Linked DNA regions of Homo sapiens: region 2 is linked to region 1. Evidence: promoter capture Hi-C in human tissues and cell types (Jung and others, 2019). All regions are on one chromosome and are shown on one strand. Each heading gives the region's core, a stretch centred on a gene start or on the middle of the fragment in contact. The rest is flanking DNA. Distances are from core to core; before and after follow the strand shown.

Evidence for each region. Contacts are between HindIII fragments. The study calls those that stand out against the background at their distance.
Region 2: a fragment that was not itself captured here is called in contact with the fragment with the promoter of CYP26C1 in region 1 in 2 of the 25 tissues and cell types used here (mesendoderm cells and thymus).

What each region holds. Positions count from the first base shown.
Region 1 is chr10:93,059,186-93,063,034 of GRCh38, forward strand. CYP26C1 (cytochrome P450 family 26 subfamily C member 1) reads left to right here and starts at 1,613. Exons shown (of 6, transcript NM_183374.3): 1 at 1,613-2,282; 2 at 2,825-3,049; 3 at 3,535-3,810. The coding sequence starts at 2,079. EXOC6 (exocyst complex component 6) reads left to right here. Exons shown (of 22, transcript NM_019053.6): 22 at 1-305. RefSeq lists enhancers at 1,631-2,540, 3,494-3,613, 3,624-3,793. The HindIII fragment of the contact is 7,111 bases long and covers 1-3,849 here.
Region 2 is chr10:93,438,424-93,442,288 of GRCh38, forward strand. All of the region lies in intron 3 of MYOF (myoferlin), which reads right to left. Among named protein-coding and RNA genes, the nearest start is that of MYOF, 42 kb to the right of the region's middle. The HindIII fragment of the contact is 8,673 bases long and covers 1-3,865 here.

The DNA.
Region 1 (3,849 bases), core at 363-2,862:
TTTCTTCAAATAGCAGATTTCAGTACTTTATCCTCATTGTGGAAACAAGCCAAACCAAATGAACTCTGGAAAACCTAAAACAAATGTACATTTTCCTTTGTGTATGTTTCCGTGGTCCAAATGGCAATATAAATCCAGTCTTTATTCTCCCTTTGTTGTATTTATGCTGAATCTTCCCTTTGCCTTTTCAGGATTTAGGCCTGTAAGAAACTATGCCTGATTCTGTAAAATAAGTGTAAAGAATTATATGTACATCTCTGGATTTTGTGATGAAATATTAAAAATATTGAGCAAGTTGTTGAAAATGCATTACTATTTTGTCTATTCAGAGCTTACTGATTTAAAACAAGTGCTTCCTGGAGAAAAGGCATATTATTTCCTAGTTACTGGAATGGGAGTGGCACCAAAACAGTATATATACATACACACACACACACACACACATATATATACATATGCGCACTTGTTCTCTCGATCATCTCTTAATCCAAAGTATTTAATGTTTTTAAAAATATTACATGAAAAGCATGGTAGTTCTTCAGGCACGGTGAAATCTGGAGGAGAGGAGCGGTGAACAGCTAGCTCTCTTTGAAGACTGGAATGGGGCTGCCCTTCGCGCCTTACCCAGCCTTCCAGCGTACTTGGGGTGTCTTCCCTGCTTTGGCTGAGACGTCCCGGGATTCAGAGAGATACTGCCTTTGCACTGCCTGGAGGAGACCACTGTGGGACCTCTTTACTCTTACCAATAATATAAACACCCTGCACCCCTCCACACACACCCCAGGTTGCACTGTAGGGACAAGAACGAGTGAGTCCTGAGGCATTTGGAACCCTTGAATGGGACGCACAAAGCCCAAAACGCAACAATGTAGATTGACAAGAGTCGTCGGGCAAACTCGGGGGAGGGAGGGAAGGATGTGCAGGGAAGGATGAATTCGGTCCTTGAGACCGGAAAGGTGCTCGTGGGTATCCGCTTCTGGAGGCTTAGGACGTCTTTATGAAGCCTAGGGCAGTAGTGGAACTGCCATCTTTGGAAGGATACCTGACGTGGTAGATCAGAGAGCCGGGAGAGGTGGGGAGCTGTCGGAGAATCTCGGCTGCGCTATCCCTCCTGGGCTTTTGCGATGCCAACGCAGGCGTCGACGACTGCAGTTTCCCTGAAATAGTCGGAGCAAAGGAGAGAAAAGCCCAGTTCTTTCACCTTGGAGTGGCGAGAGAAAGGCACCTAGAAGCTCGAGGGCGGGGACGGCAGAGGGAGCCAGCGGCCGGGGGTGGGCCAGGAGCACTGCGGGGCGCAAGCCCGGGTCAGTTCTGCGCGTTGGGTTCGCCCACTTTCTGAGCGCCTGCGAAGAGCGGGGAAGCTCTGGCGCGAACCCGCAGGCCCCGCCCGAGGACGCTCGCGGGGCGAGCCCCCAGCCCAGCTCGAGCCGCCCCGGCGCCTGCCACTCCCTACTCAGAGCCCCTCCGTGAGCGCGCCGCTGCCCACCGCCTCCAATCACCACTCTGCGTGGAGCGCTTTAAATATGCAAAGACACGTCACGTTGTGTGAACCGGGATCGGTCCGTAGGGGGGGAGCCAATATCTATATAAACGTGTCCAGCGTGGGCCAAGAAGGGTTAAACGACTGGAGGAGGGACAGGTGGGGCGGGGGTCTGCAGACCAGGTTGGCAACACTGGTGAGTTGCTCTTCTTTCGCCCTCCTTCCCTTCTTCTATCCAAAGGGTGCTGAGCCCGGGAGGAGGTGGGAGGTGCCCCGCGGAGCCGGGAGTGAGCGTTCCCGAGGCAGCAGGCACCTTCGAGAGGGACTGGCATTTGGGCCCAGGAGCCAGGAAAAAGTCCTGAGCGTGCCGGCCTCGAGGAAGGCACGTTCCCTAAGGGCGCACGGTCACTGCAGTCTTTCACCGTCCGTCTGTTTTTAGAACAGAGTTCTGGCCTGAGCTTATAAATCTCGGGCTTTGCCCCCAAACCCCAGGCCTTTTGCGGACGGAACAGGTGAGCACTGCGCACTGCTCGCGCCCCGGTTCTTGCGTCCCCTGCTCTCCCTGCGCTCTGAGCGGCCTGGCCCCCGCGGGCTCATCATGTTCCCTTGGGGGCTGAGCTGCCTGTCAGTGCTGGGGGCGGCGGGCACTGCTCTCCTGTGCGCGGGCCTGCTGCTCAGCCTGGCCCAGCACCTCTGGACCCTCCGCTGGATGCTGAGCCGGGACCGGGCCTCCACCCTGCCTCTGCCCAAGGGCTCCATGGGGTGGCCCTTCTTCGGCGAAACGCTGCACTGGTTAGTTCAGGTGAGCAGTCCTTCGACCCCGAGCGCTAATACGGTCCCTTCTTCCCCCGGCTCCCACTGGACCCTCCTCAGTCTCAATGCCCATGGGATTTGTAGCCAGTCCCTGCCCATCGCCCACGACCCCGGGAAGCGCGCACAACTCTCGCCTTTACCTAGATACTCCGTTCCCTCGAAGGGACCTCAAGTCACTGGAATTCCCCCCAGAGCAACTCCCAGACACAACGCAGGGGGTAAACATAAGGGGTTTTAGGAAGGGGTCTGAGGAGCACGTCCTGCAAGGGTAGAAAAGGAGCCTGGAGCTTGGCCCAGCTGTGAGCCCTTGGGCCCTCACTTCTTCACTCTGAGTCTGTTTCCTCATCTCACCAATAGGAACAGGAGCATGTACATTCCCGTAGAGTAGATACCAGGCCCACTGGGGATCTTGTTTTGTAAACGCGCCAGCCAGGGACAGGAAGTTGTGATCAAAAGGCAGCTGGAAGGTCTGGGTCAGATCCCAGCCCAGGCCCAGAAGTTCCAGCTCTCCACCCTCCGCCTCGCCCGCAGGGCTCGCGCTTCCACAGTTCTCGCCGAGAGCGCTATGGGACAGTGTTCAAGACGCACCTGCTGGGCAGGCCAGTGATCCGCGTGAGCGGCGCGGAGAACGTGCGCACCATCCTGCTGGGCGAGCACCGCCTGGTGCGCAGCCAGTGGCCGCAGAGTGCGCACATCCTGCTGGGCTCGCACACACTGCTAGGTGCGGTCGGCGAGCCGCACCGGCGGCGGCGCAAGGTGAGTGGAAACGGGAATGGACCGTAGATACGTCGGATCCGCGGTCCCCGGCATCTGCCATGGGCCAGGCCGGGGCCCCGGTGTTGGATACACTGTGAACCCGACCAAGGTCCCTGGTAACTAGCGGGTGGCCTTGGGCGGGTCCGTTACCTTCAGCTTCGGTTTATAAAGTTAGGACTGCGCTAAAAGATTCTTTCATCTCCCATCTTCCGTGGCTGTGATAGCAGAAGCGCTGGAGACTCAGACCTAGAAAGGGGCCAGGGAAGACTTCTTAGAGGAGATGGCAGCTGGAGCCTGGATGGTTGGGAGGGACTGTGTGCATCAGAGCAGAACTGGGGGAAATGGCGAAAGCAAAAGCCAGGAAGTTTAGGTCTGGGCCGCTTGGAAGAGGGAGAAAGGACCGGAACTGGCCTTCTGGCTACTCCGGAATCGCCAAGCAGATGAGGCCAGACCGCCGCCAGCGCTGATCACGCGCGCTCCCACAGGTCCTGGCGCGCGTGTTCAGCCGCGCCGCGCTGGAGCGCTACGTGCCGCGCCTGCAGGGGGCGCTGCGGCATGAGGTGCGCTCCTGGTGCGCGGCGGGCGGGCCGGTCTCAGTCTACGACGCCTCCAAAGCGCTCACCTTCCGCATGGCCGCGCGCATCCTGCTGGGGTTGCGGCTGGACGAGGCGCAGTGCGCCACGCTGGCCCGGACCTTCGAGCAGCTCGTGGAGAACCTCTTCTCACTGCCTCTGGACGTTCCCTTCAGTGGCCTACGCAAGGTACGGCCGCCCCGGCTCCAGACCTTCCTCCGAGGCTCC
Region 2 (3,865 bases), core at 602-3,101, 380 kb after region 1:
CCCGCAAAGGGCTGCGCCTCGGTTCACCCCTCCACTTGCACTTGCCCGCCCACCCTCACTCGGCCTCCGCATCGTCTCCCAAAACATTTCTCAGAATGTGCTTCCCCAGACGTCCCTCACCAGGGCGTCTGCAGATTCCCAGATCCCTGAGTCCGACTTTTTCCTTTCGGTAATTCTTAATACCCAGGAAGTCCGAGAAACAATGGTCTAGACAGTGACTCCCAATGGCTGTGGGAGTAAAGTGGAGGAGGTAGAGGGCTAGGGATAGGGAAGGCAGAAGGCAACGCGGGATCTGGGGAGAGGGGGGCTTGAGTGGTTTTGAAAACATTCAGCATGGGAATCCAGGCTCACGTTTGAGAACCACGCATCGAAGTCCAATTATTTAATAGAACAAACTGTAGCAGGCAAACTCCATGAAAACCTCCTAGGAAGGCCTAGTGACCTGCGCTCCCCCCAGGAACTTCCGCTCCTGACTCCAGGCCAGGACTGCCAGAGAACCTTGCGGCTCTTTTCCTGCTCATCGAAAGGGGGTGTGGCTTTTTAAAAGGTAGAAACACTGATCCTCAACCGTGATTCCCAAACCTGGCTGGCACAAGTCTCGCCTCTACTTTTAGCTCACTCCACGCCCTGGTTTTGGAATCACTGACATAGCCTGAAGGCTGTGGCAGGATTTGCACGATTTTCGTGGCCAGCATCTACTGTGCTCTTTTTCCCAGCCCCTCCCACCTCTGCAACTCTGGCCACTATGGTATCACTGTTACCTTTGCAGGTAACACCTGCAAAGGGCTGAGTGGAAGCCCAGGTCTCCTCACCAAAGCCCTCCGGGTCAGTGAGGCATTGAGGCCAGAGTCTGTGGCTGCGAGGAGCAGGCTAACTCCTCTGGCATGGAGGAGATGCTGAATATTATTTCTTGAAGAAATGGTCACCTGCTATTTTGTTATTTTCACCTGACCAATTCTGTGCCTGCCTGCCTGCCTGCCTGCTCTGATGGTTCAGTGGAGTTCCGATGCTCTGTCTCCAGTTAATTCCCTCAACCGTTAGAATCAAAGTAGTAGTTTTTTCATCCATCCATTTATTCACTCTTTCATGAACTTGAACCTTGTAAGATAAGGAGGGACAGCTTTGCCTGATGACTAGGAACGTGGAGGCAGGCAGGCCTGACTAATTCAGACTCAGGCTGCGTACAGGTTAACTTCTCCGAGCTTCAGTTTCCTCATCTATAAAATGGGGATAATGACAGCTCCTACTTAATGGTATTGTTGCAGGGATTAAAAGGATGATATGGCAAGTGCTTAACAGTCACCTTGTATTATTATTTCAGACACTATGCTAGAAAAAGAGATGTATAAAAAGCATATGAAGACAGGGCTCCTGGCTAGTACTTGGCAGTGAAAGCTGGTCTGAATCAGCAGGGGGCTGGGCAGGTGGGCATGAATGAATAGATAAGAACCCTTTGTAACTACCCACATCCATTTCTATGTAATCACTATGTAAAGTTCTTAAAACCAGTTCTTTATCTTACCTACATTAAATAGCCCTTCCCCACCCTTAATACTACATATACCACAAATCCTTTTGGGAAACAATTTTTCTTTTCAGAGTTAGACCAGAGGTAAATGTCAGCTGCAGCTGAATTCTCATAAAATCCAATTTAGTGGAATCTGAATGAAGTCTGTAAACTTCATAACCCATTATAAAAGATTCCCCAGGCTGGGTGCAGTGGCTCATGCCTGTAATCCCAGCACTTTGTGAGGCCGAGGCAGGTGGATCACGAGGTCAAGAGATCAAGACCATCCTGGCCAATATGGTGAAACCCCATTTCTACTAAAAATAAAAAAATTAGTCGGGCGTGGTGGCGGGCGCCTGTAGTCCTAGCTACTCGGGAGGCTGGGGCAGAAGAATCACTTGAACCCGGGAGGCAGAGGTTGCAGTGAGCCGGGATTGTGCCACTGCACTCCAGCCTGTCGACAGAGCAAGACTCCGTCTCGAAAAAAAAAACCCCCAAAACAAACCCTTATACAACAACCCTATCTAAACCAGCACCCACTCAGACCTCACCCTGCTGTTTTCTCTCCTTTACCTTCCTTTATTTTCTTCGTATCACTTATCACCATCTGTTATGTCATATGTGTATTTATCTGTTCCCTCTACTCAGATGTTAGCTCCATAAAAGGTATGGAGTACCCCCAGTGTCTAGAGCTGTGTCTGACACATAGTAGGCATTAGTAAATATTTGTGGCATGAATAAATTAGCTGATACATCATTGAAGATAGTCCAATGACCTTGCAAATTATTTACAGGTTGTAAATCTTCCTGTCCTAAGAGATCACCCGCCAAAGAGCCATCAGAAGATAATTACAGCTCTTGCCTTTATGAGATGCCTTTCTCTTTCAGCCTCTCTGGGTATCTTTCTCCAGGGCTGTGGCCCAATCTTATTTAATCACAAGATCTTAACAGATACCAACAGGATTGCAGCAGCTACTTAATCTGCCTTCCAAAAAGTGCAGTTCAGCCTCTCCCCGTATAGAGACAGCCAGCCCAAACCAGCTCAGATCATTTCAGTGTCATTGCTCTAATACAGAACTAAAAAGAAATCAGAACTGAGAGTTCTGCCCCACAGTAACATCTGCTTCTAGTTTAGATTTTTGTACAGCCTGAGAAGCTACTCCAGTGAGAAGAACCTGTTTCAATCCATGGGCTATCCTATCCTTCCTCACCAACCAACCCCAGGAGAAGAAAGACCACCTTCTCCCACTGTCACATTTACATGGGGCAAGGTCAGAAATGAGCTTTATAACTAGGAGAAATAAAAGTAATAAAAGCTTAAAGACAAGGTATTTCATATACTAGGGAATGAAAAACGTCTTATAAGCAATACCACACTTTGCCCTACCAAATTAATTTTATTCCAAACGCAGTCTTTTGTTTTTTCTAATTTAAAACAAGCTAGGGAGTTAGTACATTTCTTTTTTTTTTTGGAGACGGAGTCTCACGCCGTTGCCCAGGCTGGAGTGCAGTGGTGCAATCTCAGCTCATTGCAAGCTCCACCTCTTGAATTCAAGCGATTCTCCTGCCTCAGTCTCTGGAGTAGCTGGGATTACAGGTGCCCGCCACCATGCCTGGCTAATTTTTGTATCTTTTTTTTTTTTTTTTTTTTGAGACAGAGTCTCACTCTGTCACCCAGGCCGGAGTGCAATGGCACGGTCTCGGCTCACTGCAACCTCTGCCTTCTGCATTCAAGCGATTCTCCTACCTCAGCCTCCCGAGTAGCTGGGATTACAGGCGCTTGCCACCACACGCAGCTAATATTTGTATTTTTAGTAGAGACGGGGGTTTGCCCATGTTGGCCAGGCTGGTCTCGAACTCCTGACCTCGTGATCCACCTGCCTCGGCCTCCCAAAGTGCTAGAATTACAGGCGTGAGTCACCGTGCCCGGCCGAGAGTTAGTACATTTCACAACGTAAGCTAGGTCTTTTCCTTTTTTTATTTAATTCTATATCCTTTTCCTTTAATTCTATATTCCCCCGAACAACCTCTCACTTTCAAGTTTTAGCACCCTGGCCCTCAACCTGAACACACACACACACACACACACACACACACACACACACACACACAGAATAAACCTTGGAAAGTCTGGGCTCTGTGTAAGAGGATTTTAACATACCTATGTAAAATCCACATGCTTCCACTTAAAGAGCTGAGTGACCTTTTACAATTTAATGAACCTCTTTCAGCCACATTTTTCTCATCTGTGAGTTGAAGATCAGACTGTCTGACGGACTCATAGTTGATATAAGGATTAAATGCGATTGTAACTGAAACAGTTTTAACATCGTCCCTGACACACAGTAAACCTAGAAG